Regions from separate parts of the Homo sapiens genome. Here all the other regions are linked to region 1. Evidence: promoter capture Hi-C in 16 types of primary human blood cells and fetal thymus (Javierre and others, 2016). All regions are on one chromosome and are shown on one strand. Each heading gives the region's core, a stretch centred on a gene start or on the middle of the fragment in contact. The rest is flanking DNA. Distances are from core to core; before and after follow the strand shown.

Evidence for each region. The method cuts DNA at HindIII sites, captures the fragments that hold promoters and counts their contacts. A CHiCAGO score of 5 or more calls a contact.
Region 2: a contact is called between a fragment that was not itself captured here and the fragment with the promoter of MAP3K7 in region 1, in 3 of 17 cell types (activated CD4 T cells, non-activated CD4 T cells and total CD8 T cells). The highest score is 6.8, in activated CD4 T cells.
Region 3: a fragment that was not itself captured here is called in contact with the fragment with the promoter of MAP3K7 in region 1 in 2 of 17 cell types (naive CD8 T cells and naive CD4 T cells); the score reaches 6.5 in naive CD8 T cells.
Region 4: a contact is called between a fragment that was not itself captured here and the fragment with the promoter of MAP3K7 in region 1, in 1 of 17 cell types (non-activated CD4 T cells). The highest score is 5.2, in non-activated CD4 T cells.
Region 5: a contact is called between a fragment that was not itself captured here and the fragment with the promoter of MAP3K7 in region 1, in 6 of 17 cell types (non-activated CD4 T cells, total CD8 T cells, naive CD8 T cells and 3 more). The highest score is 8.0, in non-activated CD4 T cells.
Region 6: a contact is called between a fragment that was not itself captured here and the fragment with the promoter of MAP3K7 in region 1, in 3 of 17 cell types (total CD4 T cells, activated CD4 T cells and non-activated CD4 T cells). The highest score is 7.1, in total CD4 T cells.
Region 7: a fragment that was not itself captured here is called in contact with the fragment with the promoter of MAP3K7 in region 1 in 3 of 17 cell types (total CD4 T cells, total CD8 T cells and activated CD4 T cells); the score reaches 8.7 in total CD4 T cells.

Annotation. Positions count from the first base shown.
Region 1 is chr6:90,585,632-90,588,722 of GRCh38, forward strand. It overlaps MAP3K7 (mitogen-activated protein kinase kinase kinase 7), which reads right to left and starts at 1,441. Exons shown (of 17, transcript NM_145331.3): 1 at 1,133-1,441. The coding sequence starts at 1,252. It overlaps LOC124901363 (a long non-coding RNA gene), which reads left to right and starts at 1,163. Exons shown (of 2, transcript XR_007059680.1): 1 at 1,163-2,324. RefSeq lists silencers at 1,261-1,380, 1,377-1,573. The HindIII fragment of the contact is 2,842 bases long and covers 1-1,872 here.
Region 2 is chr6:89,608,284-89,611,374 of GRCh38, forward strand. All of the region lies in intron 5 of ANKRD6 (ankyrin repeat domain 6), which reads left to right. All of the region lies in intron 1 of LOC124901359 (a long non-coding RNA gene), which reads right to left. Among named protein-coding and RNA genes, the nearest start is that of MDN1-AS1, 29 kb to the right of the region's middle. RefSeq lists a silencer at 1,099-1,298. The HindIII fragment of the contact is 1,397 bases long and covers 883-2,279 here.
Region 3 is chr6:89,698,646-89,701,736 of GRCh38, forward strand. MDN1 (midasin AAA ATPase 1) reads right to left here. Exons shown (of 102, transcript NM_014611.3): 55 at 2,913-3,033; 56 at 2,001-2,211; 57 at 1,418-1,649; 58 at 956-1,082; 59 at 220-390. Among named protein-coding and RNA genes, the nearest start is that of LYRM2, 61 kb to the left of the region's middle. The HindIII fragment of the contact is 177 bases long and covers 1,558-1,734 here.
Region 4 is chr6:89,737,159-89,740,249 of GRCh38, forward strand. It overlaps MDN1 (midasin AAA ATPase 1), which reads right to left. Exons shown (of 102, transcript NM_014611.3): 32 at 3,076-3,091; 33 at 1,168-1,297. Among named protein-coding and RNA genes, the nearest start is that of MDN1, 81 kb to the right of the region's middle. The HindIII fragment of the contact is 5,216 bases long and covers 1-3,091 here.
Region 5 is chr6:89,760,003-89,763,093 of GRCh38, forward strand. MDN1 (midasin AAA ATPase 1) reads right to left here. Exons shown (of 102, transcript NM_014611.3): 16 at 2,317-2,528; 17 at 1,643-1,746. Among named protein-coding and RNA genes, the nearest start is that of MDN1, 58 kb to the right of the region's middle. The HindIII fragment of the contact is 864 bases long and covers 1,213-2,076 here.
Region 6 is chr6:89,853,257-89,856,347 of GRCh38, forward strand. CASP8AP2 (caspase 8 associated protein 2) reads left to right here. Exons shown (of 10, transcript NM_012115.4): 4 at 1,561-1,661; 5 at 2,214-2,288. Among named protein-coding and RNA genes, the nearest start is that of CASP8AP2, 25 kb to the left of the region's middle. The HindIII fragment of the contact is 2,521 bases long and covers 154-2,674 here.
Region 7 is chr6:89,871,952-89,875,042 of GRCh38, forward strand. CASP8AP2 (caspase 8 associated protein 2) reads left to right here. Exons shown (of 10, transcript NM_012115.4): 10 at 1,850-2,485. The coding sequence ends at 1,858. Among named protein-coding and RNA genes, the nearest start is that of GJA10, 21 kb to the right of the region's middle. The HindIII fragment of the contact is 700 bases long and covers 1,206-1,905 here.

The DNA.
Region 1 (3,091 bases), core at 191-2,690:
ATAGTCATTAGAACCCAATTTACCTGTTAATTTGAAAAACGACGCTTTAAAGTCACTTTGAAATATCTTGTTCTAAAATAAATTACTGCAGAATAAAGAAAGGATATGGGTTTTCTGATAGCGATTTCTAGTCTAATATTATATTCTGATTGTCACCGAAATCATTCGTTATCTCTTCAGAATATGCTACTTGAAACATCTTTTGATCGTAGACCAGTCTATGTTACTTATGGTGAAATTCACCTACATTAGCCCAACTGAAAGCCGAGCATTTAAACATTACGAGTATTGCTGTGCGGTATCGGAGAAATTGAGAACCATTCGGTGCTAAGGGAAACACTTTATTAGACTTGATGATCTACTAATTTAACAAGCATTTATTGAGCATCCCCTACATGCCAGGTACTGAAGTAGAAGTCGAATATAATACAATCTTTGGCCATTAAGAACATTACGTCCGGCCGGGCCCGGTGGCTCACGCCTGTAATCCCAGCACTTTGGGAGGCCGAGGCGGGTGGATCATGAGGTCAGGAGATCGAGACCATCCTGGCTAACAAGGTGAAACCCCGTCTCTACTAAAAATACAAAAAATTAGCCAGGCGCGGTGGCGGGCGCCTGTAGTCCCAGCTACTCGGGAGGCTGAGGCAGGAGAATGGCGTGAACCCGGGAAGCGGAGCTTGCAGTGAGCCGAGATTGCGCCACTGCAGTCCGCAGTCCGGCCTGGGCGACAGAGCGAGACTCCGTCTCAAAAAAAAAAAAAAAAAAAAAAGAACATTACGTCCAGCGGACTGAAACTCCAGAACGGCTACGATCTTCGCTGAAACTACTACTTACAGATACGAGAACTGGTGGACCACACTATCTCACCAGTTCATTCTCCTGTTTATCACCGGAATATCAAATCCAAAATCAAGAGTACCCAAGAGAGGAAAAAAGGCAGCTACTCCCGAGCAGTTGAGCTCAGAGAGTAACCCCCACTCCCACGTTACTGAGGGCTGTGGGGTCTCCCGGGTGGACCCCGCAGGGTCCCGCGAATTAGAGGGGCCCCGGGAGGCACCTTCAGAGCCGGCACCAGGCAGAGGCGGGGGCGGGGCAGGCCGGGACCGGCGTCTCCATGCCGGGCCTCGCTCACCTCTTCCACCTCGATCTCCTTGTAGTCGATCTCTTCAAAGTTGAGGACCTGGGAAGGGGCTTCGATCATCTCACCGGCCGAAGACGAGGAGGAGGAGGAGGCGGCAGAGGCTGTAGACATGATCCCTCGCGGCGCCCGGTGGGGCCGGGAACGGTGCCACCCGGACAATCCGGGTGAGACCCGCGCCCACCCGCCTCCGGACCGACCCTCAGCCTGGAGCCGCGCAGTCCTACTACCCGGCGATCCGTGGCGGGGGTAGAGGCAGCGGCCACAGCCGTGTCCGGCTCTGGCTCCGCTGCGTTTTCCGCCGACGGGCCCCGCCCACTACACTTCCGGTTCCGGGCTGAAATCGGAAACAGGAGGAGGGCCGTAAACTCCGGGGTAGGGGAGGGGAGAATTTTGTGACTTGGAAAGAAAAGGAGGGACAGGTTGGGGGTGGGGTGGAGTAAGCTAAGAAGCAAACTTGGACCTCTAGAACAAATTTCGCGAGACCTTTATTACAGGGCCTCAGCAACCGGATGATACCGCGAGAGAGGACGCCTGACGTAATTAAAGTGCGCGAACGGAAGTGGCGCGGAACATGACGGAAAATCAGTACGGTTGGTCCCTTAAGGACCAGCGGGAAAGATAAAAGCTGGGGTTTAGTCTGTGCTGCGTGAAATATGTCTTGGCCTCACTTCCTGTCCTCTGAGCTGCCTGCAGCCGGGCGAGGTGGTGTTGAACTGTGTTTTTTGTGACGAAGCTTACTTTTAAGTTTCATCCCTAAACTAAGTTGACCTGTTTCTTTAAGACGGCTTGCAAAATGTGTTTTCCTCAATGTGGGATATGGAAAGAAGCAGTTGCTCCTGTTATTTTGAGCTAGTACCTGACGCTATGAGAAATTCTAAAAGAGCGAATCAGATCATGCAACATGAATAACTATGGAGGCTGAGTGATCAAGAACAGAAGTTAATATTTTGGTGTTACAAACTTTCCACGGATTAGGTGAATAAGATATTTATAATTTGGTGTGTTCATCTCAAGTTATGGATTACGAGTGCGGGGCACTAGTGCTTTAGATTGGTAAATGAATCATCAACAGTCGCCTTGAAAATCGAATATTTTTGTCACCATTTTCAGGACATGAGAAAACACGCTGAGAGTTTAAAGCAATTATGGTCCTCACAAACTAGATCATTCTGTCCCCAAGATGGTCAGTATTGCTCATGTTGTACTACCAGCACAAGTTTTAGTTTTAAACTAACTGTTGAATTTTATATAGTCCGTTTGACATAAAGCCTAACTGTGGAATTATGTTAAACACATTTGGGATTGCAAATAGATCATTGGATTTGACCATCAAGAAGTTACAAACTCCTGGGAAACATTCTGTCACTTTTTATTCGTAGTTCTAGTGACACGCAGTGACAGTTTGATGAGTGGATAAAAAAATGAAAGAAACGATAATTTCTTTTCACTGTACACTCTCTCTTTGCATGCTCTTACCCAAGGTCTCTGTTTCTCATACTATTTTTATAATGATGACTCCTAATCTCCAAATACTCAAGATTTTTCCTGAATTCTGGACCTATTGGTCATCTCTACTTAGACAAACACCTAAACTTCAAGATACCACAGCAAATTCAAAAGTTGTCACCCACCACAAATATATTCCTATGTTATTTTCCTATGTCACTTAAGGATGCCATCACCCAGTTGGTTGTCCAAGTGAGAAATCAGGGCATGTGAAATGATGCGTGGTGCACTGATACCCAGTAGAAGCTGATATAATCAGTGGGACAGTCATTTTCACCTGTCATTCCCCTTGCATTTCCAAACAAGGATGGTCACTTCTTACCTTGTGCTATAACTCTGCAGGTCTATATCCGATTTCCTTTTAACACCTTGATCTTGCTGCCAGGTGGGAACTCAATAAATACTTAGATATTCTGTACAAATGAATAGCTTTTGTCAGTCCTC
Region 2 (3,091 bases), core at 331-2,830, 980 kb before region 1:
GGTGGGCTAGAATGGGGTTCTAGGTGGCAGTAGCCTGGGGACAATGGGCAGCAGTAAGTACCCTCCCTAATACACACACACACACTATATATATATATATATGTACAATTTCATGGCCAAGTCAAATCTGAAACCATAGTATCTCTAGCTTATGACACACAGACATCTGCATACAAGATCTTCAACAGCAATGCCAGGCAAATCAAGCTATAGAAATATACCCCATCAATGAAGTGACTTCTCCAGACCTTGCATGCTGCAGGAAATAGAAATGACAGCCTGAAACTCCTTTGTGAACGTAATCTCTGTGGGAGCAAGAGAACCCACCTCAGTGGCTTTGCCCTCCGGTGAAATCTCCTGGCTCTCACTACTTTTCCATTGGTTCATTAGAGAGCATAGTTAAGCAAGCCATGCCTTCGTCATTTTCATCCGTCTCCCCTCTCCAGTCCCTCATTACATCTTAGGACATCTTCAAGTCTCACACCTGTTCCTCTTTCCATGCTCATTCTTAAGCATGCCCTGGATTATTTCAGATGCCTCAAGCAGATTGGCAGGCTCAAATCTAGTCCCTCCTTTCATCCTGCTCTTCCTCTGCTCAGCGACCTTCTCATAAAGCTCCTGTCTGACACTGTCTATAAGCCTCTGCTGGCCCACCTCTGGAGTTCCTCCTGGCTCCTTTCCCCTAGAGCACCTCCTGTGCCCTCAGAGTGGGGCTCACTGGCCTGCTTCTCATTCCTGCCTATAGACCTCCAACCTGGCCCCAGGCCCTCTCCCTCCCCGAAGACCCACTGGGCTGCTTCTGCAACTCTCCCTTGGCACCGCATGCAGCTTTGTGCTGTCGTTTCCTAGTTCATATTTTTCATGGTTCCCTCATGGATCAAAAGCTTGAGGTCTGAGAGCAGCAAGCTACGTATGGTAATATCGCCGGTAGTGCCTGGCTCACAGCTCAGGAGGTGGGTGGCTGCCCATTTCTTCAAAATGCATATGGTCTGGAACAGGAGTTGATGGTGTGTAATCACTTTTTTTTTTCTTTTTGAGACAGAGTTTCACTCTTGTTGCCCAGGCTGGAGTGCAATGGCTCAATCTCGGCTCACTGCAACCTCCGCCTCCCGGGTTCAAGCGATTCTCCTGCCTCACCCTCCCGAGTAGCTGGGATTACAGGCACCTGCCATCACGCTCAGCTAATTTTTGTATTTTTAGTAGAGACAGCGTTTCACCATGTTGGCCAGACTGGTTTTGAAATCCTGACCTCAGGTGATCCACTCACCTTGGCCTCCCAAAGTGCTGGGATTACAGGAGTGAGCCACCGAACCCGGCCTGTAATCACCACGTTTTTTTGTTTGTTTGTTTGTTTTGAGACAGAGTCTCACTCTGTTGCCAGGCTGGAGCGCGATCTCGGCTTGCTGAAACCTCTGCCTCCCGGGTTCAAGCTATTACGCTGCCTCAGCCTCCTGAGTAGCTGAGACTACAGGCACACACCACCATGCCCAGCTAATTTTTGTATTTTTAGTAGAGACGAGGTTTCACCATGTTGGCTGGGATGGTCTTGATCTCTTGATCTTGTGATCCACCCACCTCGGCCTCCCAAGGTGATGGATTACAGGCGTGAACCACTGCACCCAGCCCAGAAATTGTTTCTGTGTAAATAAAATGGCTTCAGAAGGACAGGTCAGGAAACTCATGCGTCTCAAAGGGAGGGACATTTTGTACCAGCCATAGCCCGTAGAAAGATCCTTCTTATTCAGCAGATGTAGCAGCTCCTGTCTGGGAAATCAGTACCCACTACTCAGGGTGGGGAAAAACGCCTGCTACATATATATCTACCCTAGGTCACATTTTCTAATGTCAGGTTTTGAGATATAGGTATGAAGTCACGCTGTTCTGTGAGTTTTGACAAATGTATACGGTTGTGTAACCCCCACCATAAGATATAGAATGTTTCCATTGCCCCTTAATGTTCCTTTGCGCCCTCTGGTGGCAGGCCCCCAGTCACCCTCTCCCAGCCCCGGGCAACCACGGATCTGTTTTGCTTGTTCATAAAGGTCATGTAAATGGAATCATACAGTATGCGGCCTTCTGTGTGTGGCTTCTTAAACTTAGCATAATGTTTTTGAGATTCCTCCGTGTCGTTACATGGAGGAATGGTTCACGCCTCTTTATTGCTGAGGAGTATTCCATTGTGTGGATCTACCACAATTTGTTTATCCAAACCTATGGTTTTTAATTTTCTTGGTGCAAATGCTTTTCCACATCATCGATATTTCCTTATTGGCAATATAAGCTTTGGTATGATCTATTTCTAGAGGCATCAGATTTCTTTCATTTCACTCATGTATTCAACACGTATTTAGTGGTTGCCATGAAGCCCATAACTTGCAGACAACTTGAGAGTAGTGTTTTTAAAACCTGGGCAGACCCCTTGTTGCTGAGAACTAAACTAGCAGTGGTTCTCCACCTGGCTGCACATTAGACCCTCCTGGGGAACTATAAACAAACGAAAAAGGAAAAAAAACAAAACTTAAAAAAAAAAAAAACCTGAAGACCAGGCCTGGGGTGATGGACTGTCCCAGTTTGCCCTGGGCTAAAGGGTTTCCCGGAATGTGGGACTTTCAGTACTAAAATAGGGATGCTGGATACCCATCCCCAAGGCCACATAAATCAGAGTCCCTAGAACGGTTGTGGCTGTGCACAGGGCTGGTTTGAAAGCTTCCCCAGGTGATTCTAATGTGCACCCAAGGGTTGAGAACCAGCGAGCCTGCTAGAACCTCAGGCCTGTAATCCTCCCTGTGCCTGGAGGTAAAAGTGAGACAAAAGGTCCACCAGGGCTGGTTGGAGCTAAGGTGAAGAGAAGGGGGATAAGCAAACTGGCCGCATCCAGTATTCCTCTATTTTTTTTTTTTTTAACTCATTTCTCTTTTTAAAAGATCAGGAATCTGATATACTGGAGTATCGGCAGCCAGGACTGTGAGATCCAGAAGGGTGTGAACTAGGTGAGGGAGAAGCAATGAACAGGCAGTGTAATGCTCTGAGCCCACGCACCTGCAAGCCTGACCCAGCACTTGAGCTCAGCAGAACCAACGCGGAGCTTCTG
Region 3 (3,091 bases), core at 396-2,895, 890 kb before region 1:
TCAATAAAACCTTTTTTGACTTATCTCAAAATTTCACAAATTATTTAACATGGTATACTTTTACTGACAGTACACTTATTTAACATTCTGCAGAAAGTAAAGTGTTGCAATCACCTGTTTAGTCACCACTCTATGCTAGGAATAAATGTTTATTGATAGATCCATTCAGAAACTCTTTTGCCACTATCAAACATTTTTTATAATTTTAGACCAACAAACCTTCAATGTGGAGTCCAAAACAGACTTGGGTGCCTCCCTCTGCTGCATACCAGGCAAAGGGTTCCACATTAGCCAGTACTCTGGATTTGTGGTCACAGTACTGCTCCAGAAAGACATAAACATGGAATTAAATAACTCGGACCACAAAGATGTAATTTCTTCAGGAGACACCTAGAAATAAAGGAATAATTAGGTAAGAGAATACCTGAGAAAGACTCCATAAATTATTAGGTCTTCTTTCTTCTAAGGCCCATCTAAAACTGTCATAAGTTTAAAGGTATTAATCCAAATTTTTCCGTTTCTCTGCCACCCCAGTCAACTTGGTCAAGGAATGTGACATGTTTACAGTTTTATTTAAAGCTGTACTAATGAAATTCTATTAACAGGAGTGTACCAGTATTCATATTCAATTTATTAGAGAGGAAAAGTACAAAAAAGTATAAAAAACACTCTCACAATATATTTTTGAGCAATTGGGAGATTTTAAGCAGCAAATATTTTCATCTCATTTAATTGGAAACCAAATGAATACTCCTGTGATAAGAGTTGTAATATACCCTCATAATTACTATAAAAGAATATTTAAAATTCTTCCCTTTAAGAGGCAATTCAAAAAAACCTGAGGTTTCCAATATGGAATTTTGAGAATAAATAAAATGTTTCCCAACCAGTCTGTCAAAGAAAATCTAACCAACTCATAATGTAAAGGAGGCTTATGTCTTATTGTGATTTTTACCTTCTGATGATGCAGCAAGGACCACAGATCTCGAAGCTCTTGAGGTGTAACAGGTGTGTGATAAAGACAAAATGAGATGAGGTGACTTATCTCCTCATTTATCTGGGGTTGTTGATTTTTGCTGCATCTGTTCCAAAAATAAAGAGGGAGAGGGTGGGGTATGGACTATCAATGAACTACTGGAAAGCTGCTACATTAGGGAAGGTGTAACATAAAACTTACAGTACATTTATCTAAAAATGAACAACTCTACTGATAAAATTCTCGGTGACTTTTAAAGTAGAGTCAAAACTAGTAAAAAAAAAACCTTCAATAAATTTTGGCTTTCCAAAGTGGCAAATCACTTCCCTCTGCTTCGGTAACCATCCCTATCAAGTCTGTGGTTTGTTTATGGGTATAGGATACACAGAATAATCAAGAAAAAAAGTTCCCGCAAGGAAAACAACTGAAAGCATGGTTTACCTTCTGAGACAAGCTTGTGCCATAAAATCAGCTGTCACTTTGTACCGCCAAAGCATAGCCAGGTACTCCATTGCAGGCCACAACTGAACACTCCTGGTGAGGTGGATTACGGAGGTCAAGTCTGGATGGGACAGGGAGGAAGCTTCATCATGCTTTTTCTCCAGAAAACCAAGTGAGAGTCCTTTGGCTTTCAGTTCTAAACACTGAGCATGCACAAAATTCTTCAATTCATCTGGACAAAAAGACAAATGTTGTATGAGAGCACAATGGTTAAGAGTATAGCCTCTAGATTCTCAACAACCTGCTATGTGACTGCAAGCTTAACTTGAGCTAATCAGAGTTAAGCTCCTTAACCTAAGCTTTGAGATTCTCATCTGTGAAATGATATTAATACCCACATGATTCTGATGGAATTAAAAATATATGTGAAATTTAGTCCTATGCCTGACACTTATATAAAGGTATATAAACTCTACCCCTCACATCACCCAGAAAAGAAAAATCTAAGGGAAAACTTATTAACTACCAGCAAGAGGATATTTTCAGAGCATCTGTCAGCTAGCCAAGTGCTAGAATATTTTACCTAGGCTGACATCTTCCAAAATATTTGCTCTGAGGATCAGTCCCCAGGCTTGCAGGAGACTTTTCTTTAATGTCCACTGAGAAGCAACCACTTGGAGACGGTTAATGTCTTCCTGCCATCCACTCTCCCCAAGGGCAGACATCTGCTCCCTGATGGCAAGGACTTTGTTAAGGACCTTCAGTTGTGAAAAACACTCCACCACCAGCTTGTCCTGAAACAACAACACCCACAAGAGCATACTATAGAGCACAAATGTGGTTTTCTTTAGTAGCCTATACAGGTCTCAGAATAAATTTATGATATATTCTTAATGTTTCCAGAAAACAAAGGACTTGTTTATTTCTGTTGCTGTCAAGAGATTTTACAGTGGTAATAAAGTTAACTCTCTACCCAGCCTTAACAGTCTCAGGAATAAGTAAGATGATAATATGTAGCAAATTACTAAACAGGATTCATGGGATAGAGCCTGCCCTCTTGTTATGTGCGGGTTCCGCATCAATTCAACCAACCGTGGGTCGAAAATATTCAGGGGGAAAAATGGATGGTTGCGTCTGTGCTGAACGCATAAGGACTTTTTTATCTTGTCATTATTACCTAAGCAATACAGTATAATCACTATTTACACAGCGTTTATATTGTATGAGGTACTGTAAGTAATTTAGAGATGATATAAAGGGTACATAGGTTATATACACACACAACGCCATTTTATATAAAAGTCTTGGACTTTCCTGGAGGTTTGTATCCAAGGAGAATCCTGGAACCAATCACCCCCAGATGCCAAAGGAAAACTGCAAGAGTTATGCTTTCAAGACAAGGATTAATCTTATACAATGTCAGTTCCCAAGTTCCAAAAGGACTTCAGAAGTAGTAGTCACATTTCTTTTATTTACTAAATGCTTCCAGGTGTACCTTAAAAGGAAACGGTCGTCCCAGGAACTTCTGCAACTTCTTTATACCAGCGAAGCCACCAGTCTGGCTCCCCAGACAATTCTGAATATGTTCTGAGACAGTCTGAACTTCTTTGTAATATCTTTAAAGGAGAACAAGGGCACAGGGGAAATAAGGAAAGGGGGAAATGCTAGACAGTA
Region 4 (3,091 bases), core at 257-2,756, 850 kb before region 1:
AGCAGTGTGCGTACCTATAAATGTGGCAGTTCACCGTGGGCCATTCCTAAAAAGAAGTCTTTGCTCAGATGACTAAAGAATCAGTCGTCCCTAAAACACCACAGGTGAGAATGGGTTCCATGCAGATTAGATGCTCTCTACAGCTACTCTACTCATTTTAGAAAATGTGTGGTAGGGCACCTTTAAAAAGTGAAACATAGCCATGAATTCCAATTTCCAAGAAGCAGATATCTTTTTTTTATATTCTTTAAGAATATAAAAAATGATCCAAAAAACTATGTATTTAGTCTTGGAACCAGATCTGGGTTCTAAATTTATTCCATTGAATGTCTAAGATAAATATGCATACATCAAACCAATACAGGCTTCAAAAACAAAAAGAACCATATAGTTAGGAGTGTTGCCTTTTATTGGATATTTTAAATTGTTAATTCTAGATTATGGATACTAATCTATTTTCCTTGTGCCTGAGATTTTTCATAATAAAAATTATTTAATTAATTAATTAATTTTGAGATGGAGTCTGTCGCCCAGGCTGGAGTACAATGGTGCAATCCCAGCCTAATTTTTTTTTTTTTTTTTTGAGATGGAGTCTGGCTCTGCTGCCCAGGCTGGAGTGCAATGGCGCGATCTTGGATCACTGCAACCTCCACTTCCCAGGTTCAAGCGATTCTCCTGCCTCAGCCTCCCAAGTAGCTGGGATTACAGGTGCCCACCACCACACCCAGCTAATTTTTGTATTTTTAGTAGAGATGGGTTTTCGCCATGTTGGCCAGGCTGCTCTCGAACTCCTGACCTCAAGTGATCCGCCCACCTTGGCCTCCCAAAGTGCTGGGATTACAGGTGTGAACCACCACACCTAGCCAAAAAAATTTTTAAATAAAGTGAAAGAATAACATGTTCATTGATGACAACTAAAGAAATGCAGCTGAAATTCTACAGCCATTGTGTCAAGTGGTAATGATGAAAATATGAAGATGGGACACTTTAACAGAAGGTAACAGAATAGTAATATTCTCCTTGTCTACTTTGTTTCATTTACCTATCTCCTTTCTTCTTATAACACACCATATACACACAGGGCTGATGTCCTGTAAGAGATCCCTCAACTCCCAACACAAACCCTTCTATGACCCAATACTACCATCACCACCTGCAAACTCTCACCTTTAGGATCTATTCTGCCCAGACACAATCCTGGACGAAGATTATGACTGATGATCTGAATTAAATCTTCACGGCTTGTGCTTTGAGGGCACCATATTTCTGTAAACCGGTTTCTTAAGGCAGGAGACAGCTATAAGAAACACAAAACTTCAATGTGAATTTTTAAAACTGTAAGGAAAGCTGGAAAACAAGTCTTGAAAGAATGTTGTTAGCTGTTAAGTCCAGCAAATACTACACACTTTTAAAAATTATTTCTACTATCAGATATAATTAATTGAAGATGTACTTTGTCTTGACTCCTTATATTCCATGACACCTTCCAGTATCATCATCACTTTCTTAATAGACGTGGTCCAGAGGCCTTACAGACTAAGTGGTGGAAGCAGGATTCCAGCCAGTCCCAGTCAAATCTGAACTCTTCCCCTCAGGCAAAGATTCTTCCTTTTACTTTACCTTTACTTTGCATCAGGTACCTAAATAATACTTCAGAGAAAATAAACACCTGTCTTCCCACAGAGAAGGGCAGTCTGATGTAGGAGGAAGAAACTTCTTTTACATAGCTCAATGAGAGTGTGATTTTAAAAAGTATATATTCTACCTCTTGAATAACAAGAAATTGTTTAGCCACTCCAGTCTTAGGGCCTTTGCCCCTGTAGATTCCTTTTCCCACCACAAGGTCAGTTGACACTATTCACAAATGTTTGCAATGCCACATAAGCATCATTATTGGTTTGTCTGATTACTTTGTAATTACTTTCCTTTTACTTGATGATCATCTATCTGGTCTACCACAGAGGCCCAGGAATAAAGCATACGTGTGTGTACCTCATCAGTATCATAGACAACCAGTACCTCCGGTGTCCAGCATCCTACCTTGCTCTGCTTGTTAGGCATGCGAAACTAAAAAGTAACTTTCCCTTGGGTAAAAGTCAGCAAGCATTGACTTGAGGAAAACAAGATAAGATAATCTGACAGCCAAGCTAATATACACAAACTTGAAATCAGACCTCTCTGTGGCATTTCTACTTGCCCAGAAGCCAGTTTTTATATTTTGAATGCAATGTATTTTATTCCCTCTCTTCAGAGCATATCTTGAAGCATAGAGACAATTTTCATCTTATGATACTGAGGAAACCTAGGCCCAATATATCATTTCAGCTACCCACCAAATTACCAACACTCTTAATTGTCTTATTTAAGATCAACCCCTCTGTTTCTTCTCATCATCCCTGACCTGTTACATCACTCTCTTCCTAACTTTAACAGACTGGGATCCAACACATAGTGCTGACTTCTCCACTGAAAGGTTTCTTGAGCTGGAAACCAACAAGGTTGTTGGTTCCCAAATATATCTGAACACAACCCTCTGAACATAGGAACTACCCTCTGCCCTTTACTTTATCAGCAGTCAGAAAGTGACACACATAACCCTTACGAGAACAAATAAGCTCCATCTACAAACCAGAAGAGGGTTCCTGGTTGTGACTTTTTTGTCACTTTAAAACCACCCATGAAAGCAGAGGTGTGTTTAAGAAAGTGGACTGTAAAAACAGAGGTTAAACTTAAATTTCAGATCCAACTTTTCTCATCCATAAAACTACAATAATAACTTTCTTGCAGAGCTCCTGTGAGCTTTCTCAGGGTAACATATGTAAAGGGCTAGGCAAAGTGACTGTAACAATGACATTTCAGGCACATACACAAAGTGAGATATCAAATAAGGAGATATTTGTGTCAGAATTTTTTTCTAACCCAATAATTATTTTAAAATATTTTTGAGTTTTTACACTTTTTACCCACTTTTTACCTAACATAAAATTCCAAATCCATTATTACATACTATATTTACGAGTACCAGTAAGCTGAGGTCAAAACCTAGAAAGAAAATGTGCATCAGTAAAGTTTTACCTCCTTTTTTCCAAAG
Region 5 (3,091 bases), core at 395-2,894, 830 kb before region 1:
CAGAGGTTGCAGTGAGCCAAGATTGCACCACCGCACTCCAGCCTGGGTGACAGAGTCAGACTCTGTCTCAAAAAAAAATAATAATAATAATTCTGATGACCAAATTTTCCACACCCATAATGTATGGTTGAGTAGACCTTCTCTGTTACTAAAACATCACCAAGTAAGACTCCTGCTTCCTCTAGGGCTTCATCTAAGGACTGTCACAGAAACAAACTTTTTTTAAATGACCAAGCCACAAATATTTAACCAAGTTGATCCTTCCTACAGGGTCACAGGACAGCAAACAGTAGAGATGTCCATGCCCTGGGATTAAAATTGGGGCAATGAAGTGAACGGGTCCAAATCCCTCTCTCACATCCACACACTCTTTCCCCGGAGACACACATGGTGAGAGAAAGAATCCAGAGTTCACTAGCTGTCATCAATTGCATCTTTAAAAATAGTAATAGATCCAGCAATCTCACTTCCAGGTATTCCCAAAAAAAATCTGAAAACAATATGTCGAAGGGATGTCTGCAATCCCCTGTTCATTGCACCACTATGCACAATAGTCAAGATATAGAATCAACCTATGTCTCCATCAACAGATGAATAAAGAAAATGTTGTATATATACATATATACAAACAATGGAATCCTATGGAATCTTATTTGGCTTGAAAAAAGAAATAAATTTTGTCATTTGCTATGACATAAATAGAACCAGAGAATATTATGCTAAGTGAAACAAGCCAGGCACAGAAAGACAAGTATTGCATGTTCTCACTTATATGTGAAATCTAAAACAATGGAACTCAAAGAAGCAGCCAGCAGAATGGTAGTTAGCAGAGGCTGGAGAGTTAGGGAGTACAGAGTAATGAAAGTACAAAGCCTTGGCCAGGCGCGGTGGCTCACGCCTGTAATCTCAGCACTTTGGGAGGCCAAGGCTGGCAGATCACGAGGTCAGGAGATCAAGATCATCCTGGCTAACACGGTGAAACCCCGTCTCTACTAAAAATACAAAAACAAAAAATTAGCCGGGCATGGTGGCATGCACCTGTAGTCCCAGCTACTCAGGAGGCTGAGGCAGGAGAATGGCGTGAACCCAGGAGGCAGAGCTTGCAGTGAGCCGAGACTGTGCCACTGCACTCCAGCCTGGGGGACAGAGTGAGACTCTGTCTCAAAAAAAAAGAAAAGAAAGTACAAAGCCTTAATTAGACAGAAAAAAATAAGCTTTCTTCCCTTTGAGATATATATTGCATAGCATGGCGACCATGCCATAAATAATAATGTCTTGTACATTTCAAAATTACTAAGGCAGTACATTTCAAATGTTCTCACTACAAAAAACGGTATTTGAGATGATGAATATTCACTAGCTTTAGTTATTCCATACCGTATTCATAAATCATAACACCCTTTTGTACCCCATGAATATATACAATTATAATTTATCAATTTGTACTTTTAAAATTTTTATTTAAATAATGATGGTGCTCATTAAGATCTTATAATTGCCATAATTACCATGAAGGACACTTTTCAAAATCTTCCCCCAAAATCATTATTTCATTAAGACAATACAAAATAGTAACCTGCCTGAAACATTGTTTTGCATAAAATCAACGTTCCCATAAGCTAAATAACAAAAACAGAAATACCTCTACAAATGCGAACAATAAGGTATTTTCAGTCATTTTCATCTGTTGTTGGGCATGGTTGAGTCTAAGACCAAATGCTTCCCATTTCTCTTTTATGAGTAACCCTAAAAAAGAAAGACAAGAATTCAGCACACATTTTGAATTGTAATATATACAACTTCTAAACAAACAAATACAATTAACAAAACACACAAAAATTAAGCATCTTACACAAAACACTAAGTCTAAAAACTTGTATAATGCTAACAAAATGCCAGACATGACACTAATTAGCCCACATGTATGAATATATATGTATTAACTGCCTCATTTATCCCTCACAACAACCCTCTGGACTAGTTATTTTTATTCCTGCTTTACAGATAAGGAACCACACAGAAGTAAACTAAGCCAGCAAAAGCCTCTTGGCTATAGAATCTAGCTCCTTAGAAATAAGCTTTTTCTGAGGAAATGTGCCTTACTGACCACTAAATAGTACTTGCACATCAGCATTACCAGTCAACTGTTTTTGTGGAAATACGTGAATAATGGGGCACAATACTTCACAATTAGTCACTTCTGCCAAAGTCCTAGAAAGCTCCAATTTGTATCGCTTTACTCTTCCCCAAAACTAATATGTTAACTAAAGCCCAGCCCCATGCCCTCCCCCATGGCAGCCTGGGTCACATCCTTACCAGTTTCACTGTCTTTTCCATCCTTGTTAACAGCAGACTTGTGTACATGCTGCATTAGTCTCAGGAGATCATGCCACCGTTTCTGTCTGTAACAGGTCTGAATGTGCCCCAAGAACGTAAAGTTTTGTTTCTTGGAAAATGTCTGAGCAAAGAGTTCCTCAAATGCCTCCCGTAAGGGTAGCCAAATAAGCTTATGGTCCACCGGTTTATAACTGAAACAGACACAGGTAAATGTGATTCACAAACTTCTGAAGTTAACAGAAGTTAGAAAGCATGGCTCAGAAAACAGGAGTAGGTCTCAGATTTCATTTAATTAACGTCAGAAATACTACTGAAATATTTAAAATCTACGTTACAGTTTTAAATTGTAATATTTTCCCCCATCGCAAGCATTTGAAGGGCCCATAATGAAGGTAAAAACTATTATTAGATAAACAGTGTTATGAAAAAAACTAGCCTAGCATGGCTGCTCACATCTATAACCCCAGCACTTTGGGACACTGAGGTGGCCAGATCACTTGAGCCCAGGAGTTCAAGCCCACCCTGGGCAACATGGCAAAACCCTGTTTCTACAAAAAAATACAAAAATTAGTCAGGTGCAGTAGCACACACCTGCAGTCCCAGCTACTTGGGAGGCTGAGGTGGGAGGCTTGAGCCCAGGAAGTAGAGGTTGCAGTAAGCCAAGAACACGCCACTGCCACTCTAGCGTGGGCAACAGAGCCAGACCCTGTCTCAAAAAAATAAAAGTAAAAAAAAATTGAAAGTCCTACTTGAA
Region 6 (3,091 bases), core at 164-2,663, 730 kb before region 1:
GTTTCATTTTCTTGGTCAGTTCATTGTTTTGTGGTTACTAAATCCTGGTATATCATAGCTCCTAAAGAATTTGCTCATTCTTTGTAATTACACTGAGGTAATTCTTTTCTTTCTTTTCCCCCACAGTAACTTCCAGAACCCAATCTTAACCAAAGCTTGATCAGAAAAACAAATTAGCACACAGGTTTTTTATTCATCTCAGTCTCAGATTTAATTGAGCCTTGTGCAAAAACATTTTCTACTATTGAAGTGCAACTAGTGCTGGTGTCTGTTACTACTCACTCATACTCTTTTTTTTTTTTTTTTTTTTTGAGACGGAGTCTCACACTGTCGCCCAGGCTGGAATGCAGTGGCTTGATCTCGGCTCACTGCAACCTCCGCCTCCTGGGTTCAAGTGGTTCTCCTGCCTCAGCCTCCCAAGTAGCTGGGACTACAGGCACGTGCCACCACACCCGGCTAATTTTTTGTATTTTTAGTAGAGACAAGGTTTCACCATGTTAGCCTGGATGGTCTCGATCTCCTGACCTCGTGATCCGCCCACCTCAGCCTCCCAAAGTGCTGGGATTACAGGCATAAGTCACCACACCTGGCCGCACTCATACTCTTGAAGGTTATATGATATTAGAACATTTGAAAAGTGTAAGTTACTATAAATATTTTTAAACGTATCAGTAAGAGTGATATGCTGAGAATCTAATGACCTATTCAAATTAGAAACCTTTTCCATAATCAGATTTCTCAGAGTTTTGAACAGTTATGATCTTCATACCTAATTTGGTTGACACAACCATTTTAGGTAAATTGGTAGTCCATCTGTAAAATCAGTATAAATTTGGAATGTAGGATAAGTGAAATGTAGGATGAAGTATGGGAGATGGAGAAATGTATAATCTTTGAAGTAGATAAAATATCAAAAAGTGTAACAAGGCTGGGCGCGGTAGCTCACGCCTGTAATCCCAGCACTTTGCAAGGCCGAGGCGGGCGGATCCCCTGAGGTCAGGAGTTGGAGACCAGCCTGGCCAACATAGTGAAAACTCGTCTCTACTACAAATACAAAAAAAATTACCTGGGCATGGTGGCACGTGCCTATAGTCCCAGCTACTCAGGGAGGCTGAGGCAGAAGAATCGCTTGAACCCAGGAGGCGGAGGTTGCAGTGAGCCAAGATAGCGCCACTGCGCTCCAGCCTGGGTGACAGAGGGAGACTCCTAAAAAAAAAAGGTGTGACAAATATTTTCACTTTGTGAGGCCAAGGCGGGTGGATTTCTTGAGGTCAGGAGTTCGAGACCAGCCTGGCCAACATGGTGAAACACCATCTCACCATCTCTACTAAAAATACAAAAATTAGTGGGGCGTGGTGGCGTGCACCTGTAATCCCAGCTACTCGGGAGGCTGACGCATGAGAATGGCTTGAACCTGGGAGGGTGAGGCTACAGTGAGCCAAGATTTGCACCACTGCCACTGCACTCTAGCATGGGTGACAGAACGAGACTCAAAAAAACAAAAGAAAAAAGTGTAACAAGTATTTTTATGGAAGGTTTTTTTTGTTTGTTTGTTTTTAGACAGCGCTTCCAAATCCTGTGTACCATCAAGAAATTGTTTGGACTTATATGAAGAGATCCTGACTGAAGAAGGAACTGCAAAGGAGGCAACATATAATGATGTATGGGTTGCCACAATTATTAAGGACAGTTATTTACTGTTTTGTAGCTTCTGAAGAGCAGTCAGCTGCTTAGTTTTGAACAGATATTTTGTTTAGGAACTTAGCTCTTAGACTAACAAATATTTAAGTCAGTTTTTGTCTTCAGACCTGTTTTTTAAAGGAATGTTTTCTGAATACTTGTCTAAATTTAGTTATAATTTTGCTTGACCCAATTTAAGCATCTGAATATAAAACCTCAACAGGCAAACAGTGTTACAACATTTTTTCTTTCATGATATGTACAAAGTTAAATTATATGTTGCATAAAATGTCCTCAGACTTCTATTTCTTTCTACTATATTTGAATTTTAAGGTTTGGATGTTGAATGTGAAACTAAACAAAATAGATTATTTGTAGGCTTAACTTTAAAACTGGTTATCTTTCTGGTAGAAGTAGACCTCATCTGCCTTCTTAGTGAATTGATTTGCAAAATTTAAAATATTTAGAAATGCCAGTTAAGCTAAGAAAATAATTTTGAATGATACTTCAATTAATCCTTTTATATTTTATAGTTGCAAGTAGAATATGGAAAATGTCAACTACAAATGAAAGAGCTGATGAAAAAATTTAAAGAAATACAGACACAGGTAGAGTATAAATGAAAACATAAAAAACAAATTACCAGGCACAGTGACTCACACCAGTAATTTCAGCACTTTGAGAGGCAGAGGTGAGAGGATTGCTTGAGGCCAGGAGTTTGAGCCCAGCCTTAGCAAGGTAGCGAAACCTCATCTCTACAAAAAAATAAAACAATTAGCTGTGTATGGCCCCCTGTAGTCCTAGCTACTTAGGAGGCTGAGGAGGGAGGACTCTTGAACTCAGGAGTTTGAAGTTAAAGTGAGCTGTGATTGTGCCACTGCACTCCAGCCTGGGTGACAGAGCAAGACCCTGTCACTTAAAAAAAGTAAAACAACAAAAAAAAAGTTGTTATAAATAGAAATTAAAATGTTAAAGTGTTGACAGTTTATAAGGAAGCTTTCTTTTAGTATTAAATGAAATAGCAAATGTGGCAAGTATGCATTATTTCCTGAGTTGATGAAATTGAATGAAATAGCAAATGTGGCAAATATGCATTATTTTCCGAGTTGATGAAACTGATAAAGGAAAACGGCTTGATTTATTAAATGACATTGATTATAAAGGGTCTGTTAGACTTAGGCCAATTAATAGTTAATTAATAGAAAATTGTGGAGATGATGACAACTGGTTTAAAAGAATGGTTTTGAGGAGCAAAGATACGGGTTTAAAATGGCTCTTGGGGGACACTGTTGATGCCTTCACAGCTTTTGCCAAAATGACCTATTTTGTGACTGTGCTGCAAAAATCAGGAATGTCATGTCCTGTTCTAGTTTTTACTTTTTGGTAAAATTGTATCTCTTCCTTCTCTTCC
Region 7 (3,091 bases), core at 306-2,805, 710 kb before region 1:
GAGTCTTGCTTTGTTGACCTTACTGGAGTGCAATGGCGTGATCTTGGCTCACTGCAGCCGCCACCTCCTGGGTTCAAGTGATTCTTGTGCTTAAGCCACCCGAGTATCTGGGATTACAGGTGTGTGCCACCACACCCAGCTAATTTTTTGTATGTTTAGTAGATTACTAGAGAGGCGGAGTTTTGCTGTGTTGGCCAGGCTGGTCTTGAACTCTGGGTCTCATGTGATCTGCTCACCTCGGCCTCCCAAAGTGCTGGGATTACAGGCGTGAAAAAAATGTTTTAAGAGATGGAGTCAGGCCAGGCGCGATGGCTCACGCCTGTAATCCCAGCACTTTGGGAGGCCGAGGAGGGCAGATCACAAGGTCAGGAGATTGAGACCATCCTGGCTAACATGGTGAAACCCCGTCTCTACTAAAAATACAAAAAATTAGCCGGGCACAGTGGCACACCTGTAATCCCAGCACTTTGGGAGGCCGAGGTGGGCAGATCATTTGAGGCCAGGAGTTCTATACCAGCCTGGCCAACATGGTGAAACCCCATCTCTACAAAAAATACAAAAATTAGCTAGGCATGGTGGCACGTGTCTGTAATCCCAGCTACTTGGGAGACTGAGGCATGAGAATCGCTTGAACCTGGGAGGTGGAGGTTGCGGTGAGCCAAGATTGCGCCACTACACTCCAGCCTGAAAGAGTGAGACTCTGCCTCTCAGAAAGAAAAGAAAAAAAAAACAAAAACTTGATTTGGACATAGAGCGCAGTGCTAGTGAAATCTTCAAAATATGTGTAGTAGTTTACTATGATGTTAAATTTCTTTTGTTTGTTCTGAGACGGAGTCTCACTCTGTCGCCCGGGCTGGAGTGCAGCCGCATGATCGCAGCTCACTGCAACTTCTGCCTCTCGGGTTCAAGTGATTATGACGTTAAATTTCTACTTATATAATTCAGAATGTTGCCGGGTGCAGTGGCTCATGCCTGTAATCCGAGCACTTTGGGAGGCTAAGGTGGGCAGGTCACCTGAGTTCAGGAGTTCGAGACCAGCCCAGCCAACATGATGATACTTCATTTCTACCAAAATTACAAAAATTAGCTGGGTATGGTGGAACGTGCCTGTAATCCCAGCTACTTGGGAGCCTGAGGCAGGAGAATCACTTGAACAAAACACAACAGAATACTGTAAGCTTGAATAATGGGGAATTTGGAGAAGAAGCTTATTCTAAAGAACTTTTTTTTAAAAAGCTCTGGGCAAAAGTGGCTTGATTATTTATTAGATTAACTGTGCTTTTTAAGATTTTTGCTGCCTTTAAGAAATTAAATCGTTTCTTTTTTTTACCTTAATGTTATATTAAAGTATGATTTCCGTTCTCTTGTGAAGAGAATGTAAATTCTTTTAAACAGAGATGGGGTTTCGCTGTGTTGCCCAGGCTGGTCTCGAACTCCTGGATTCAAGCGATCCATCTGCCTTGGCCTCCCAAAGTGCTCAGATTACAGGCGTAAGCTACTGCACCTGGCCAAAAATCTAAAACCATTTAATGAATTTGATATTTGAGATTTCTTTGCTTGCAGGATAGCACATATTGTGGGTTATTTCATTCGTAGCTTGCCTCTTAACTGATTTTTTTTCCCCACAAGTACTGTAGTCCTATTAAATTTTTGTCAATATCAAGTATAATGATAGTTACCAAACTGATTGCAAAAGCTAGGTTTTTTTTTAAATTTTGAGACCAATTGGAAGATGAGAAAGCTAGTTTATTAAACACCAATATCGTCTAAATGGAGCTCATTTAAGATAACACATTATGAGATAGTCCTATCAGAAAAATAGAATAATAACTTTAGCATTTTCTTACATTACAGATAAGTTGCTGAATTCCTGGGACTCTTAACTGATATTGCATACTACACAGAAGCTTCAAATTCCTCATGTTTTAAATGAGCACTAGAGGGAGGTTTATCACCTTTTTGGTTACCAGATGATAATCTATATTTGTTATTACTCAGTGACTCTCTAATTTCACATCAGCATGTTCAGCTTGTGCTAGTCATCATTCTGATTTGCTTATCTGTTTTTGGTCAAAATATTTATTTTTAAACATGTTAGAACTTACCAAAATGAAAGCAACAGTGATGTATTGAAATCTTAGTTTTGATATTTTAAAGAAATGACTTTCTAGATTAAAAAAATAGTTTTGTAGCATTTTAAACTTAGTGACTATTTAGTTCAATTGTTCATCCATTTTTTATTTGCTTTTATAATTGCCTCCTTGTTTTGGTATATTGTAAAATAATTTAAATAATGTATTTATAAATATGTATAATTATGATGTAAAATACCGTGTGTATATGTATGTATGTGTGTTTCTGTATATGCACACACATAAACGGCTTTGCCTAGCCAAGGATTTTTTTTATCTGTATAAAACTTTTTGTATAAAGTTTGCTTTCAATAACAGTAATGTATAATAAAACCATGTAAAGTTTTGTTGTATTTTGATTCGAATGTTTCTTTTACTTTTATTGTGTTTAGGTAATAATTTAAAAAATCAAAAGAGGTAAAAGTCCTAGGGGACGTAGGGTGCAATTTTGAAGTGGTTCCTGGTTGGGGTGTGGCTGGCTGAATGGTTCTGAGTAGATTGAGAAAACTGATTGCTGTTGCCTGCCTTCTCACAGCAAGTACTAGAACGGTGAACCATATCTCTGCTGCAGGTGTCCTCACAGATAAAATTAGAGTAGCACAAGAGCTTTTTGGGTGAAGCTTTGGAGAAAACAGGTGTAAGGATTGATTAGCTTGGGCATTACTTCTTCACCCTTCAGCCTTCAGACTCACAGAACTTCTCAGTTAATAATCTAGGCCCTAGACTCTAGGAAGTGCCTCTTCTCATTGCCATTTTTCTCAGGGTGTCCAAAGGAAGAAGCCCTGTCCTAAAAGATTACACATTGAAATAAATAGCAGTGGTTTTGTAGTGCTAGGGCTCTCCAACATGGGGCTTGTCCCCTTCCCTCTCTTTGAACCCTTAATACCAACTAGAGGGTTGGCCATCAGTCCTTCTGCAGTGCATACTCTCACTCAGAAGATCTCATACCACCAGGTAAG